Linked DNA regions of Homo sapiens: all the other regions are linked to region 4. The links are contacts of gene promoters, found by promoter capture Hi-C in blood cells and fetal thymus (Javierre and others, 2016). All regions are on one chromosome and are shown on one strand. The core of a region is centred on a gene start or on the middle of the fragment in contact, and the rest is flanking DNA. Distances in the headings are between cores, read along the strand shown. Region 1 overlaps RBM33 (RNA binding motif protein 33). Region 2 holds the start of RBM33 (RNA binding motif protein 33). Region 3 holds the start of SHH (sonic hedgehog signaling molecule). Region 4 holds the start of NOM1 (nucleolar protein with MIF4G domain 1).

What was found. Contacts are between HindIII fragments. The CHiCAGO score rates a contact against its expected background, and 5 or more counts as called.
Region 1: a fragment that was not itself captured here is called in contact with the fragment with the promoter of NOM1 in region 4 in 1 of 17 cell types (M0 macrophages); the score reaches 5.2 in M0 macrophages.
Region 2: a contact is called between the fragment with the promoter of RBM33 here and the fragment with the promoter of NOM1 in region 4, in 3 of 17 cell types (total B cells, non-activated CD4 T cells and naive B cells). The highest score is 10.3, in total B cells.
Region 3: a fragment that was not itself captured here is called in contact with the fragment with the promoter of NOM1 in region 4 in 2 of 17 cell types (M2 macrophages and M0 macrophages); the score reaches 6.0 in M2 macrophages.

Annotation. Positions count from the first base shown.
Region 1 is chr7:155,758,486-155,762,603 of GRCh38, reverse strand. The region is part of intron 14 of RBM33 (RNA binding motif protein 33); the gene reads right to left. Among named protein-coding and RNA genes, the nearest start is that of SHH, 52 kb to the left of the region's middle. RefSeq lists an enhancer at 3,895-4,118. The HindIII fragment of the contact is 1,540 bases long and covers 1,228-2,767 here.
Region 2 is chr7:155,642,581-155,646,741 of GRCh38, reverse strand. RBM33 (RNA binding motif protein 33) reads right to left here and starts at 2,081. Exons shown (of 18, transcript NM_053043.3): 1 at 1,823-2,081. The coding sequence starts at 1,865. It overlaps RBM33-DT (RBM33 divergent transcript), which reads left to right and starts at 2,336. Exons shown (of 3, transcript NR_126344.1): 1 at 2,336-2,528; 2 at 3,138-3,274; 3 at 3,772-4,161. RefSeq lists a silencer at 1,754-2,263 and an enhancer at 2,188-3,142. The HindIII fragment of the contact is 4,649 bases long and covers 1-2,333 here.
Region 3 is chr7:155,810,222-155,814,516 of GRCh38, reverse strand. It overlaps SHH (sonic hedgehog signaling molecule), which reads left to right and starts at 2,054. Exons shown (of 3, transcript NM_000193.4): 1 at 2,054-2,694. The coding sequence starts at 2,395. The HindIII fragment of the contact is 272 bases long and covers 1,715-1,986 here.
Region 4 is chr7:156,948,273-156,952,017 of GRCh38, reverse strand. It overlaps NOM1 (nucleolar protein with MIF4G domain 1), which reads right to left and starts at 2,306. Exons shown (of 11, transcript NM_138400.2): 1 at 1,294-2,306. The coding sequence starts at 2,280. RefSeq lists silencers at 1,886-1,935, 2,216-2,565 and an enhancer at 2,626-3,154. The HindIII fragment of the contact is 6,978 bases long and covers 1-3,331 here.

The sequences.
Region 1 (4,118 bases), core at 748-3,247, 1.2 Mb after region 4:
TTTCTGCTAAGACTGTACAAAGAAACAGGGACTCAAGAAAAGATGAGATGAAAAATGTCACACAGGAATACGTGGCATGAAAATGTCTGCAAATCTTCTCTCTCCAAAACAAGTGTAAGCTGGACAAAATTTTCCAAAACAACATTTGAGGACTCTGGAAATCAAAGAAAATGAAAAGAATGGAGAAGCACTTATTCCTGAGCTGTGAGGACAGTGCAGTGTGTGGCAGCTCCATCAGCACAGAGCCGAAACTCAGTAAGGCCTGAAGTTCCCCAGCAGCACTGGCCATACAGCACCCTCAGAGGGAAAGGCACAGGGAAGCCCATGGGTCTGTGGGCCTCTGGTCATGGTTCAGTTTGGAACAGGCAGCACACCAGCCAGAAATCTGAGAAACCTAATGAGGAAATTCCAGAACGGAAAGTGCTAGAGAAGGCCTAGATGGGCTCTCCCCACATGGCTGCCTGGGAAGCCCCAACCCACACACAGATAACTGGCCATGGGGGGCCATGCAGGGTCCAGAGACCTGAGCACAAGCTCATCCCAGGCGCTGGCTGGCCACTAAGCTACGCAGCAGTCGGGTCAACCCCTAGGAAGCTAGGCTGAGAAATAAAAATAATACAAACACTGAACAAAAAATATTTAAACTGAATGGAAACAAAAATACAACACATCAAAATTCAGGGGCTGCAACTTAAGCAATGACATCAAAAAGGAAAAACATCTAAAATCAGTCATTTGAGTTTCTACCTCAAGAAGCTAGTCCCCCGTCCTCAAAAAAGGAAATCAAACCCAAGTAGAAGGAAGGAAAATGATAAAGATGACAGCGAAAAGCAACGGCATGGTAAACAGAAAAAAGACAATCTGTGAAACCAAAAGTTGGTATTTTGAGATCAGCAAAAAATTGATGCTCCTTTAAGGATACTGACCAAGAAAAAAGGAAAGAAGATGAATTACCAAAATAAGGAAACAAAGAGGGATCACCGCAATGGACCCTAAGAAATTTAAAAAACATTACAAGCAACTTTACATCAACACACTAGACAATTTACATGAAATGAGCAAATTCAACGAGACACAAGTACCAAAACTGACCGAAAGAGAAAATACGAATAGAACTCTAAGAAGTAAAGACAATGAATTAAAAACCATTCACAAAGAAAAACAAAGACCCAAATAGCTTCACCAGTAAGTTTTACCAAATATTTAAGGAAGAAAGACTACCAAGCTTACGCAATCTCTTTCAGAAAACAGAAAAGGCAGAAGCACTTCCCCACTCATTCTTTGGGCCTGGTATTACCCTAATACAAGGCCAAAGGCATCAAAAGAGAAGACAACTGCAAAAGAATATTCCTCATAAACATACATGAAAAAAAATCCCCAACAGAATATTAGCAGACTAAATCTAGCAACACGGAAAAGGGATCACACCTCATGACCAGGTAAGATTCATCCCAGAAGCGCAGGGCTGGTTTAACACCCCCCCGGTTAACCAAGGGAACACACTACACAAAGGAAAGGACCGTGTGTATATCTGCTATCGTCCAGCCAGGGCTGCGGGTGACTGAGCCAGATGGGTTCTCCCACCTAACGCTCTATGACTCTACCATTTGAATTATCATCGCCTGAAACGTGCGATCTTACTGGGAGTCGCTCCTGTCTTACAGGGGCTACCCCCAACCCCCACATGAAAATGGAAGCACTGTGAAAAGGCAGACCGCTCGCAAAATCCAAAGTCAGGCTGGTAGTTTGTGCCTCTTAAATCTTCTCCACAAGGTCTTCTACCCAAGGTGTGAGTAGGTATCCCACCAGGCAGGGAGGGCCTATACTGAGTACACAATTTTTCAGTCTGTATCTTAAAAAACTATGTGAATTCTCTCTAGTTTTATACATGCTTGAAATTTTCTATACTAAAAAGTTTTAAAATTTAAAAATATATACCACATACCCTCATCTTTCATGAGAACCAGTGACCATTAATTTATCCAAAATCCTATTGCAATGTTGTTGCCTGACAGTACAATCTTAGTATGAGATTCATAAATTCACTATGCACGTGTTCAGCTGTACTGCCACTGAAAACATTCCTCCTCTTTACAAGCGCGAACACTTCACACCAACCTCCAGGTCCCATGAGGGCCCATGTTAGGTGGAGGGGACATCAGACCACTCAGTTCTCCACACAACTCAGCAACCCAACAGTCTTACTGACTGTGATTCTCCAACTTCTACCCTTTCCACTAACGTGGGCAAATGCATGGACTGTGGAAGGTTTGCTCTCTAAGAAGGACTTCCATCGTATGAACTTAAGCAATCTAAATCAGCTCCCTGGTAGCTTAACCAACTAGGTCTCCAAGGATGCCGACCACAACATTTGCTGTCTTGTAAGTGCTTGAGAGAAGCCAGTGGTTTAGACCCCAGTGAATCTCTTGTTCAGCTTACCAAAATGTCTCATGCACACAGAAGGCACTGAAATATTTAGTGAATAGATCAGTAAATAGTTGCCTGTACTTTTTAAAGTTAAGTAGTTCTGAATGTGCTAAGAGAGATTATAGCATCAGAATACTAGGTTACAGCCACTGTCAATCAGTACACACCTATTTACTACACCACTAAGATAATAAAAGGCCAACTTTCAGCCCAGCAACATGAAGTGTCACGTGGCAGAAAGAGAGGCGACAGTACCTTTGGCCTGGAGGGAACGATGTTCACAGAACATGACGGACAGCAAGACGAATGCTCTGGCCGGTTTCCCTGGCAATCCAAAGCTTGAAACAAGATGGTCTAGAGAGGAAACTTTAACAACAATAGGTGGCACCAAAAGGAGGATGTTATTATTTGCATGTTGTAAGGTATACAATGTGTATGTGTACTTGGGTGATAAACACATAACACTGTAGTAATTTGATAATTTTTAAACTGTGCTTTGGGAGGCCGAGGCGGGTGGATCACGAGGTCAGGAGATCGAGACCATCCTGGCTAACACGGTGAAACCCCGTCTCTACTAAAAATACAAAAAAAATTAGCCGGGCGCGGTGGCGGGCGCCTGTAGTCCCAGCTACTCAGGAGGCTGAGGCAGGAGAATGGCGTGAACCCGGGAGGCGGAGCTTGCAGTGAGCCGAGATCGCACCACTGCACTCCAGCCTGGGAGACAGAGCGAGACTCCATCTCAAAAAAAAAAAAAAAAAAAAGAACATAAACATTGAGTCAATAAATACCCCGAATAAGAAAAAGTTCTCTTCATCATTATTTTGGGTAAGAGACTGGTGAAAATTTATGTCTGGTGACATTAACGTCAGATAAGAACTCTGAAAAATAAATTTCTAAACTTTTATTTTCCATTGAAGGAAAGTTTATTTTTTAAGTAGGCTTGATCTCTATTTAAAGTTCAGAAATACAGGTATTACAAAAAGCCTTTCTCTTCCTCATCTGTTTCAAAAAAACTAAAATTTCCTTATGCAGATCTTGTAACATAAAGAAAGGGTCCTGATGTGATGGTGTCATACCTCGTTGACGACTTTCTAAGAAATGGCCTGAAAAGACAGGAATAAGGCCTGTGATGAGACAGTCCCTGCAGACAGAGACCTCACCTCCTAGTGCCACCTCTGCTCATTCCGTGGGGCCGGGTGGGCCTTCCTGGGCCTGCCGCTGCACCCCTCCCTGCTTGGGAAGCTCTTGGGCCCAGACTGACAGACTCTTCGGTCCCAGTGGCAGGTTGGGATGCAGCTACTTGGTTTTTCTTCCCAGTGGGTCTGGCTCTCGGTGGTCTCTTGCTTCCTGGAGGCATGTGCACCACAGTGTCCTCAGGGCAGGCAGACACCAGAAGACACAGAAAGTGGGGTGCTTCAGAGTCTTGTGATGCCGACTACCCAACTTTCAAGGAAAGACTCTTCCTACAAACCTGCTCAGCAGAAAGAAGCCCTGCCTGGGTAAGCTCTGGAGCTGCTTATATCCAAGACAAGTTTTTGTACCTTATACAGCAGGGGTCCCCAACCCTCACTACCAGTCTGTGGCCTGTTAGGAACTGAGCTGCATGCACCGCAGGAGGTGAGCAGCAGGCAGGCAAGCATTACTGCCTAAGCTCCGCCTCCTGTCGGATCAGCAGCGGCATTCTCACGGGA
Region 2 (4,161 bases), core at 832-3,331, 1.3 Mb after region 4:
TCTGAAGAAAACAAACAAAGGTGCTAGAGAATGAAGACAAGAGAGGCACAAGAGCAACGGACATACATTCCTCAGATACAATGAATTCTCAAGGAAAGCCTCCCTTAAAAGCGTGAGATCCACTGGATCAGGAGTCAGCCCTGGCAAGAGCGGGTACAGGAGCAGTCCATGCGATGAACTTCCAGGATAAAGGAAGCAATCACACAACATGCTGGTGGGGTAGGCAGGGACCAAGTCATACAGAACTCACAAATCTTGGCAAGGAGTTTGGTATGAAGAGCAAAGGAAACTTTGGCACTTGTGACAAAATGGAAGGAAAAACTCCAAAGCATCATGAATAAAGCCTACTTATTCTTCTAAAATAGCAATTCTCAAAACTTCTGACCTCAAAATTATTGAAGACCCAAAAATGCCTGTTTATCTGGATTACATTCAGTGATATTACTATTTTAGAAATTTAAAATGAGAAACGTAAAAGAATACACAAGCATATATTCCATTAGCCATCAGCATAACGTCTTCACATGTTATTCAGCCTCTAGAAAACTCCACTGTACACTACTGAAAGAAAAGAGAAAAAATACAAATAACACCTTAGTCTTTCTAATGAAAAGAGTGTTCACCCAAGAGTTCCCAGGTTACACTGGGAATGCTATAAAACAAGTAATTCTGACCCCCAGAAAGATAGGTGAACTATACATTTTAAAATTTTAATTAGTCTCAGATGTAACACGCAAACATCATGTATTTAAACTGAAAGAAAAGTGGCATATAGCAAACCAAATTGCCAGAAGCGACATTCCTACACTTAGTCTTTTTTGTTTTTCCATTTTGTCAGGCAAACGTTTTGACAGTTGGGCCAAAATTCCTAAACAGGATGATAACAACGTAACCATCTGCTAGCATTTACTAAAAAATACTTCTCGAGTATACACTAGACTGGCTTTTCAACGTTTCAATGGTAAGAACTAATCCCAAATGCTTTTGTTATCCATATTTTACCATCTTTTCAAAGTTTTCAAAATAATCACTTAAAAAGTCACTTTCAAGTATCTCTCCACGTTTTTAAAACCCCCAGTGATATGTAATTTTACCTGAAAGTAATTTACCTACAATTTTTTAGAGATAGGTGTTTCATCAATACTGTTTATGCTTGCAAACAAGAAAAACTATCCAAAGGAACTGACTCAGTATCTAAACCTTTTGTGTCACGTTTTCACTTTTGGAAGACGCACATAAAACACTAACAGGTTATTAGACAACAAATAAGTTAATTTAAAACAGGGATTTATTGAGACTTTCTCAAGAAATCTCACTTTCCAAACTGGCCTACTGTCGCACATTCCTTCACACAGGTGAATCTTTTCGTTATGTTTTTGTAATGGGCTTCAAATCAATCTAAATCTGTCAGGATGGCCCCACAATCTTAAACACCCACCCTACAGCGACCTGCCCCGCTCTCCCTAAGTGACACTGTCTCGGGGGGTGGGGGGGGCGCTCTCCTACCCATAGGACACCAGGCCGGCTTCGGCACTTAATGCCCGCCAACGCCAGAGATGGGCCTGACACTTAGGCAGCCTTGCAAAGTAGAGGACACACAGAAGTTCACAGGTAAGTACGATCTGCACAGCGGAGAGGAGGAGCGAGAAAGGGAGAATGACAATAGCGAGGGAAGGCGAGGGAGAAAACGGAATAGGCCGAACACAAAGAGAGTCGGAGCCGGGGAGAGCCTCGTCCTCTCCTAAGCGGGGAGGCCCCCCGGCCTACACCCCCGCCCACCGCGGCGCGGTCCTGGCCCCCAGAGTCCGGCTGCCTCACGTACCTCCGGCGCCTGCTCCTCCGCTCGCTCCCAGGGCGGCCGCCATGGCACTCGCGGGGCCCGGCCTTCAGCCTCCCCCACCAAGCCAGCTGGTGGGCCGACGTGCCTGGTCCGGGCCCGGGTACGGGTGACGGAGGACAGAGAAGGGAGGGGGCTGCAGGAGGCAGAGGCGAAGCCGGGCGCTTCGCGGTCCACAGCTGGCCCTTCGCCTCCGCAGGAAGAAAACAACAAACTACCGCAACATGGCCGCGCGCCCGCGCCCGCCGCGGTGCACCCTGGGATGATGGAGGCCGGGAGGCGGGCGGGCGCCGGGGCCTGCCCCCGCCGAGGCCGCAGCAGCCCTGAGGCCGCCGCCGTGTTTCGGGCGGTGGGCGTGCAACGCAAACACGCGGCAGTCACCTCCGCCCGGCTCCTGAAACCCAAATGTTTGAAGCAGGGCGGGGACGACTGCTGGCCATAGGTCGATTCCGGGTTCAGTCGTAAGGCGCTTTGCAGCAGTCGGCAAAGCGAAGCTTTACGGCAGCCCGTCTCCCGTTAGGAGCCGGGGAGGCAAGGTCCAGCGTACGGTCCGGGGGAACCTTAACTGTCGTTTCTGTGCCTGGACAGTAGGTTGGAGAGTGGGGTCTGAATGAGCTACAGTAGTGAACGCCGACGGCTTGTGTTGAGGGCAGGAAAGGGTGCACACAGCTCCGGCAGGTGCTTCCGCGAGGTGAGATGAGTGCCGCGCGCGCCGGGCTAACGTGCACGCGCACTCGTGCGGCGCCCGCGAGCCCTCACTTCCTACAACCCGAGACCCTCCGGACCCGCGACCCCGGACCCCCGTCCCCTTCTCCGCGCCCGGCTGGGCAGCGGGCAGCGCCGGACCCTGATGGGCTCTCGGCCCTTACTGCCCCTGCGCCTTGCGGCCCTGAGAACAAGACGTGAGCAGGACGGATAGCGCCCGGCACTCATGTCTGAGTTTGCATTTTGAGCAGTGAGAAAGGTTAAGAAACGAAATCCTCATACTTGACATAAAGGAAAGGGTGCTGGGTGGTCAGACAGCTGTGGACGAAAGGGCTCAGGGGTTTTGGGGTGTGGGGCCCGGGAAGGCGCATCTGAGTGGTCGCAGTCGGGGAAGGGGGTTGATTAAGTACACACCGGCTGTAAACATTGATTCCATATCGGTCAATGTGGGGCTTAGGTGAGGCGTTCTGACCCAGCAATGAAACTGGAAAGGTAGGCAGGGGCCAGGATTCCGGACTTTGGGACGTTTTTCTGAGTCTATGGGGTCTATTGAAAGATTTTAGAAACAATTTACATGGTAAGATTTGTATTTTAGAAAGGTGACTGATACAACAACGTAGAGGACCCTGCAATGTGGAGAGGCATGAAACTGGAGGTCCAGTGCCGTGAGTTAACAATCAAGACGTCCATACAGGAGATGCATTGGTGGATGGGTGAAGAGATGATAAAACGGTACGTATAATAAAATGCTGGCCGGGCGCGGTGGCTCACGCCTGTAATCCCACCACTTTGGGAGGCTGAGGTGGGTGGATCACGAGGTCAGGAGTTTGAGACCAGCCTGACCAACATGGTGAAACCCCGTCTCTACTAAAAATACAAAAATTAGTTGGGCGTGGTGGCACGCGCCTGTAATCCCAGCTACTCAGGAGGCTGAGGCAGGAGAATTGCTTGAATCGAGGAGGCGGAGGTTGCAGTGAGCCGAGATTGCGCCACGGCAATCCAGCCTGGGTGACAGAGCGAGATTCTGTCTCAAAAAAAAACAAAAAAATTATTCAACTGTGAGAACTCACTCCCCAAAAAAAATGTTTTGCAAGCAACTCATTGAAAAATGGTCTCTATTAAAAAGCACGTTAATACATCCATATTTAAATGGCTTGAACTCTTTATCACCTTTCATTATTTTTTGAACTGTGGAGGATGGCATGCCTAACTCAGAAAATATTTTTCAGGATAATTCAGTGGTGATCTTCAGAAGAATTCCACAAAAAACCAAATTAACAGATGAAACAATCTCATAAGCCACTTGAAACTGAATTTCTCTAGAACAAGAGTCTATAAAATTTTTTGATCAAACACCCACTGGAAAAATTTTTTAGCGTGGACACCCAGTATTTGAAGTTCTTGGTAAATTACTGTGAGTAAAGATTTAACCAACCCCTTGTCCTTATCTATGAACAAACTTCACTTTGTGTTAACTTTAACTTGTCATAGAAACCTTATGAAGGCAGAGTGTTCATTGTGGTATAAAACAACATTGGTTGTAGGCCAGGCGCGGTGGCTCACGCCTGTAATCCCAACACTTTGGGAGGCCAAGACAGGTGGATCACCTGAGGTCAGGA
Region 3 (4,295 bases), core at 601-3,100, 1.1 Mb after region 4:
TCTCTCAGGCCCCAGGGTGGCAACCCGTGTGGGGGGCCTTCTGCCTGCATTTGGAAGGGAGTAAGTAGCGGGGAAAGACAGGGGGAGGAGGAGGGACTGGGGCAAGAGGAGATGCCAAGGGTGGAAGGCAGGGCAGTCAAAAGTTTGCAAATGTCCCACTGGGCCAGGTCGCTGGTCCAGCCCAGGCACCACCCAGTGATGTGACATCCACATGCTGTGCAGGTAGACACATCAAACAGGCCGGCCTCCTCTGGAGAGAACACGGGTCCTGTTTTGTGTCTGTTTTTACTGGGAACGGGACAGGCAGCGCAGACACACCGCCTGGAGAATCCCTGGGCTCAGCTGAGCTCCAGCTCCGCTCAGTGGAGGCTGCCGGGGCCTGGTCAAGTGGACGCTGCTCCCCCACGGTGCTCTCCTCCAGGGATCACGATTCGTCACAAACCATGGAAAGGAACAAGAAAGAGAGGCGGGAAGGGGAGCCCGGGTCAACCTCCCCAAAGGCACCCAGGCCACCGAGTCTTGTTAACGCTCAGCCTCTCATGCCCAAGACAGATGTGTCCTAAGATGCTCCTCTCCTTCTCTCCCCCACCACACACACAAAAAGTTGATCTGCAAAGGGAACTTCTGGAAACTTCCATCGTTTGAGGGCTGAGCTTCACAGGGGTCCTCTCCCCCTCCACTCCAAGGGCCCGGGGTCAAGGGAGAGTGTTTAACTTCACAGGGCCACATTTGCAGCATCTGATGACTCCTCAGGGTCAGGATTTCCCCTCCACGTAAATAACCCTCACTCTCTAATCCTATGCTAGAGGAATCATTGCACATGAGTGGGATGGCGATTGAGAAGGGGAAGGGCATGATCTGTTTTTTTTTTTTTAAAAAAAAAAAGAAAAGCAGGGTTGAGAGGGAGCTTCAAATTTTATTTTCCTGGTTTACTTAGGACTTTTGAGTTTTTTTCCTTTTTCTGCAAAAAGTGAGGTGATTATAGACTCAAAGATTGCCACCTCCTGGGCACTGTGCCCTCTTTCTAGGAAGCCCCTCGTTAACCAGAACACTGTTCCCCCAGGGCCCCTGACCCCTTGGGCTGCAGCCCCTAGGACTGGTGGCTCCTGTGCCTGAAGACTGCTGGCCTGCTGAGCCCCCACACAAGGCCAGCTTTGCAAGGAGCCTGAATTCCACATTCAGCTCACCCCTGGCTCTGCACTTTGCTCTGATCGATCGTGGGGGTTGTGTGAGCACAGCTTCGCCCACTCGCCTGCCCCCCCCCCAACACCCTGCAATGGCCTCCACACACCCAGCGCACACACTGGCCCCCACTCTCTCCCCTGTGCTGGGGTGCAGCCCCCAGACCTGCTTTGCCCATCCACCCTGACGCCCGCAGTTCACTCTGTAACTGCCCTTGAGCACGCCTCCATCCCATTTGCAGAGCTCTACAAAAAAAAAAATGTATTAATTGAAGCACAATAAAAGAGCAGTATTTTTACATTTTTCTAAGGCACTTAAAGCATTTCAAATACCAGTGCTTTAAGTTATGGTCACTCATAATTATCCTCGGTCCACAGAGGCTGAGTCTTCAGGAGGGGCTCAGTCCTCTTTCTTCAAAATGCAGGGAGAGCCAGCCTGCACTATAAAGTCCCTGGGGAAGAAAAATTAAATAACAGCTGGGCAGCTGTGCCCCTCAAATGTGTGAGCGACTCTGTGCTTGATGACTGAAGCTTGCGGGGGTTTAAACTGTCCTTTAAAAACTTAAGTTGGTTTTAACTGAAGCACCTACCATTCCAGGGAAAGTCAGGGGGAAACGCAAGGATGTACACAAAGCCGGGAGTAACTGCTGTTACCACAAGACATGCGCTCCTCCCTCCCGCCCACCTTTATCTTAGGAAAGATTTTTTTTTTTTTAACTCGAATCCTTCAGGTGAAAATAAAGCAACAGCAGCAACAGAAAAAAAAAACGTAGTCTTCTTCAGGGTTAACATCAGAAGACAAGCTTGTGCGGCTTTGGCCAATCAGATGCGCCCCTGGCAGCTATAATATAGTGCTAAAGGCAGCCTCTCTCACAAGCTCTCCAGGCTTGCTACCATTTAAAATCAGACTCTTTTTGTCTTTTGATTGCTGTCTCGCGACCCAACTCCGATGTGTTCCGTTATCAGCGGCCGGCAGCCTGCCATTCCAGCCCCTGTCTGGGTGGGGAGCGGTGGAGAGTCCCCCGCAGCCGCGGCGGGCAAGGTTATATAGGAAGAGAAAGAGCGAGGCAGCCAGCGAGGGAGAGAGCGAGCGGGCGAGCCGGAGCGAGGAAGGGAAAGCGCAAGAGAGAGCGCACACGCACACACCCGCCGCGCGCACTCGCGCACGGACCCGCACGGGGACAGCTCGGAAGTCATCAGTTCCATGGGCGAGATGCTGCTGCTGGCGAGATGTCTGCTGCTAGTCCTCGTCTCCTCGCTGCTGGTATGCTCGGGACTGGCGTGCGGACCGGGCAGGGGGTTCGGGAAGAGGAGGCACCCCAAAAAGCTGACCCCTTTAGCCTACAAGCAGTTTATCCCCAATGTGGCCGAGAAGACCCTAGGCGCCAGCGGAAGGTATGAAGGGAAGATCTCCAGAAACTCCGAGCGATTTAAGGAACTCACCCCCAATTACAACCCCGACATCATATTTAAGGATGAAGAAAACACCGGAGCGGACAGGCTGATGACTCAGGTAGGAACCCAGCGCCGGGGCGTGGAATGTGTGGCTTTCCAGGGGGTTACGAGAAGCCGAACACTTCCAGACTTAACTCTGTTTGCTCTTCGGGCAGATAGGAAGGTGATTTCACCCGCTCCTTCCCCACCCACCTGCCCGCCCCCCATCTCTTCCTCTTCCTGGAGGAGAATGGAGGTCAAGGGTCCAGCTGGAGAAGTTTAGGGTGTGGTGGGGGTGAGGACGGTAACAGACGTGGTTCATTATGGCCCTGATTTGATGAGTCTTGCTACAATGGCCTTCCCCATCCTACCTCTGCCCTGGCTTGTAACTTGGGGAGACCTTCACTTTGGGGGCGTCGGCCCTTTCCAAGTCAGGAGTGGAAATGGAAGGAGAGGCTGGGAATCCCCCTCCCACAAACATGAAGTGGTCTCCTGGTACTGTACGAACGAACGAACGTAGCCTTGGGCATTGGAGCTCAGAGCCCCCACGTTTCCCGTTGCCTCTGTGGTTTTCTTTCCCACCACTACCCCCACCCTGCACCTCCCCACCAAAGAATTCTCAACTGGAAAAGCCAGGAGGCGGTTCTGACAAAAGGCAGGGGCTCCAGGGGAGACTCCGCCCGTCCCTGGGTGGCTGGCTGTATCGCAGAGCTGGCTTTGCGATTGCGTGTCCGCAATTGTGCCCATCAGAGTGTGAATGTATTGATATTTCTTTAAGGATGCTCTTTCGTTCTTCCAAGCCCGAGGTACCTTAGGGGAGGGACTTAGAACTTATTGGCATTGCATCACTTTAGTTTTCAACCTGCTTGCATAAGAATTAAGAGCGAATAAATATTAGTGTGGGGGGAGGGGAAGCTAAGCAAAATATGAATTCCTCTCTCTCTCCCCACCTCCTTTGAGATTTCTGAGCTGCCAATCTCCCAGCCAATTCTAGACTTTCTGAAACTCCATGCACGTATAACTGAAGCCAGAAATGGGTTTCCTTGCAAATATAGGTCAACATCCTTTTTATTGCCCTATTAAAATATTCAAGTCCTACCTTTAGGGCTAGGTGCGTACAGCGGCTGATGGAGTGGCGCTGGTGGGGCGCAAGTGCAGGGGGAGGGTACTGACGGCAGAGAGAGAGGAGCTACCTCCGTGCCGCCCTGCTTCCCGACCCGATTCCCAGGCTTGCTTGAGGCCGAGAAAGGCGAGGGGCAGGCAAGGTAGCCTGCTCCAGCTGTCGGAAGGGAGAGGAATGGGAAATGGTCCTGATTTCCTTGCTCTCCCTCATCTGCTCCCGACCACCTTAAATCTGGACCGCGAGTGTGGACGCGCGCGCCAGTGCCAGACAGCAGCGCGATCCACAATTAACTCTGCACGGGCCATGGGGTGCCCGTTGCGTGCAGCTGGCTGGAGGGAGTTCTCCGGCTAGCCCGAGGCGCCCATCCTCTCGTCACCCTCACTCCCCGCGGAGGAGGGGCCTTGCCAGGGTCCCTCGGAACCCGAGAGGAGGGAGGCACTGCGGAGAGAGCGGCGGGGGCGTGGATACCCGAGGTCCCAGAGCCAGAGTGGGTCAGCTTCTGCCCTGCTCTGCGGGAGGCCAATACCGCAGAAGGGGTCCTGGGCTCGCACACCTTC
Region 4 (3,745 bases), core at 1,057-3,556:
AAAATCAAAACCGGCCGGGCACGGTGGCTCATGTCGGTAATCCCAGCACTTTGGGACGCTGAGGCGGGCGGATCACGAGGTCAGGAGATCAAGACCATCCTGGCTAACACAGTGAAACCCCATCTCTACTGAAAATACAAAAAATTAGCCGGGCATGGTGGTGGGCGCCTGTAGTCCCAGCTACTTGGGAGATGAGGCAGGAGAATGGCATGAACCTGGGAGGCGGAGCTTGCAGTGGGCGGAGACTGCACCACTCTACTCCAGCCTAGACGACAGTGCAAGACTCAGTCTCAAAAAAAAAAAATCAAAACCAACTCACTGCTATTTCCTAAATTATCAAGGGGGGTGGTGGTGTTTGCAAATCATTAAGGACACAAACATTTGCAAGGCACGATCCTCACTGCTAGGTAGTTTAAACCTGGTTCAATAAAGAATATTTGTATACATAGAAGCTGAATATTTACATACATAGAACTAGTGCGATGTGGGGAGAAGGAAATGCAGGCAATTCCACACAGCTGCCTCCAACCATGAGCTACATGCAAAGGAACGCTGAGATAAAATATGCAAGATGACAGCCCATGAATGCCTTGATTGCTACGTCCTAGATTCTGAACTTTTTTTTTTCTTTGAAACAGAGTCTGGCTCTCTCGCCCAGGCTAGAGTGCAGTAGCGCGATCTCGGCTCAGTGCAACCTCTGCCTCCCTGGTTCAAGCCTCAGCTTCCCAAGTAGCTGGGATTACAGGCGCCTGCCACCACGCCCGGCTGTTTTTTGTATTTTTAGTAATGACGGGGTTTCACCACGTTAGCCAGGCTGGTCTCAAACACCTGACCTCAAATGATCTGCCCCGCCTCAGCCTTTATCTTTAATTCAATGTTGGACTTTATCTAAGGGAGTGCTGTAAATTAGCTTCGAGTTTTAGAAAATTCACTCTAAAAGTCGGGCACGGCAGATGTCCTCGGATACTCGAAAGAGGCCTTAACAGATGAGGTAGGGTTAACAGGTTTAGAGACCTGGGCTGGTAAACACAGAATGAAGATGCTGCACTGTGGAAATGGCCCTTAAGTCCCCGGGATAAAAATGTCTCTATATTGCTTTTCTCCTAAACTTTACATTATGAAAATTTAAAAACATGAAAGAAGACCGAATAGAGTAACGTACTCGATTTACTCACATTCAGCTGAAACCATTATCAAGACACCAAGTCTGTGTCATTTCTGCCTCACGCCCCATTCCCTGTCCCGTTATTTTGAAGGAAATCCCAGAGGGCCTAGAGAGTGTTCACACGATACCTTATCCGTTATGTCACCGTCCTCCGAGGAATTTTCACTCTTTTCTTCATCTTCTGCAAAACGGACTCTCTTCCCCCTCCTTTTCTCCTGCGCTCCCTTTTCCTTTTCTTCCCCCTGTTCCTCTTCTGTATCCTCGTCGTCGTCCTCGCTCTGCGCTTCTGCTTCCTGCGCCTTCTTTTCCTTTTCTACGTCTCCCTCCTCCTCCTCCTCACTTTCGTCCTGGGAGTCACTCTCTAAGTCACTTTCGGGGAGTGTCTGTCCGGCATCTTCCTCCTCCTCACCACTGCTGTCGTACAAGCCGCTATTTTTCCCAGACTCCAGGGCTCCCAGAATATAGTCAAGACCGTCGCGTGCAAAGCTCAGCGGCACGGAGCTGCTGCCGTCCTTCTTTTTGCGCTTGTTCAAACCGAGGCAACGCTCCAGCTTTCGGATCTCTCGGTCCTCCTCCTCGTTCGCCGCTAAAAGCGCCCGTTTCCGGGCAGCGGCGGTGGCGGCTGCGGAGGGTCTGGTCTTTGCGGTGGCGGCCGTGGCCTTGGCCTTGACCCGGGACGGCCGCGGCTTCCTGGGAGGCGAGGGGTCCCGACTAGGGGCTGGGCGGGCGCGCTCCTCCGTGTCCTGCCGGTGACCGCTGGCTTCTTCGGCTCCGCTTCGGCCTCCCAGGCCGGGACCCTGTTCGGGGCCCGCCGTCCTCTGCAGCCGGCGTGCTTTCCGCAGGTGCCGCTTCTCCTTCCTCAGTTCCTTACGGCTTTTTCTCCCTCCCGGGCGAAAGCTCACCGGGGCGCCGCGCCCCTCGCAACCCCCGGGAGCCTCGCCTTCCGAAGTCGCGTGCACGAACTCCTCCACCGCTAGCTTCAGCCTCTTCAGGGCCTTCTCCCCACCGCCAGCAGGACCGCGGCGCGGCCCGCGCCCGCCTCTGCGCTTCATGCGGACCACGCGTCCCTGGGAGCCGCCCGGGCCGGCCTCTCCCGCGCTCCTGGACGCCGCCATCTTTCGAAACGCGTGGACGCACGACTTCCGGCCGAGGCGGGACTTCCGGGGAAGAGGCGGCTGCGCGGGGCGGGCGGGCGGCGCCCCCTGCTGGCCGGAGGGCGACAGCGTGCAGAGCTGCGCGGAGCCGGGTGCGGGGGCAGCCGGGCAGGTGGCGCCCGGGGCAGGCGCGCCCGCGGGTGGGCGCCGCGTGGACGTCAGGCTCGCGATGAGCATGGAGGTGCCTTCACATTTAAAAGGGAAATCCGGCCGGGCGCGGTGGCTCACGCCTGTAATCCCAGCACTTTGGGAGGCCGAGACGGGTGGATCACCTGAAGTCAGGAGTTCGAGACCAGCCTGGCCAACCTGGTGAAACCCACCCACCCCCCTACAAAAATTAGCTGAGCGTGGGGGCACGCGCCTGTAATCCCAGCTACTCGGAGGCTGAGGCAGGAGAATCGCTTGAACCACGGAGGCGGAGGTTGCAGTGAGCCGAAATGGCGCCATTGCACTCCAGCCTGGGCGACAGAGCGAGACTCCAAAGGGAAATCCTCGCGTATGATGGAGGGGAGACTCCGCGCGGGTCGGCGCGGTGCCGGAGGTTGGCGGCGGCGACGACGCTGGGATGCGCGGGCCCCAGGTTCGTGTCCGCCCAGGACCCAGGAATGCGACCTTATTTGGAAATAGGGCCTTTGCAGATGTGGTCGAGAGGAGCCCTCGTGGGTTAGGACTGGCCCCAGAGCCAGCGTTCTCCTGAGAAGCAGGCTCTGGATACGGACCAGGGAGACGCCTGTGGCCCCCAGGCGGCCGAGGACCCCTGAGGAGCCGGCCCTGCCCAGGCTGGGTTTGGACGCTGGGCCCCGAGGGCAGAGCGTTTGAGGTTCCTCTTTACTGGGTAACTTGAACCGGGAAGCGAACGCAGAGGCCGCGCAGTTTGCGTCTGGATTTTTGGGAAGCCCGGAGGCGCAGGAGCAGCCTCGCCTAGCAGTGAGCTGGGGGAAGACGGGGCTGCTGCTGTGGGGTTCTCGGCCTGACCAGGGGCCGCTTCTCTTCCCGGACAGCTTCAGAAGCTTCATTTCCACAGAGTTCCCACCCTTGACTTAATTTAATTTAATTTAATTTTTTTTCTTTTTTTTTTCTTGAGACCGAGTCTCACTCTGTTGCCCAGGCCGGAGTGCAATGGCGGACCAAAGTGCTGGGATTACAGGCAAGCCACCGCGCCCGGCCCGTCCTTGACTTTAAAATGATTTAATTTTTGTCAACTTGTCAGCTCAAAATGGCATCTTGTCATTTAGTTCCTGATGAGAGTGGGTGTCTTTGTTCACTGGCCATTTGTATTTCCTCCTCTGTTTATGGCCTTTGTCCATTTTCCTTATAGGTTTTACGAATTTTTTTAAATATAAAATTTATTTAATATAAATTTAAAGTAGAGACAGGGTCTCCCTGTGTTGTCCAGGCAGGTCTCAAACTCCTAAGCTCAAATCCT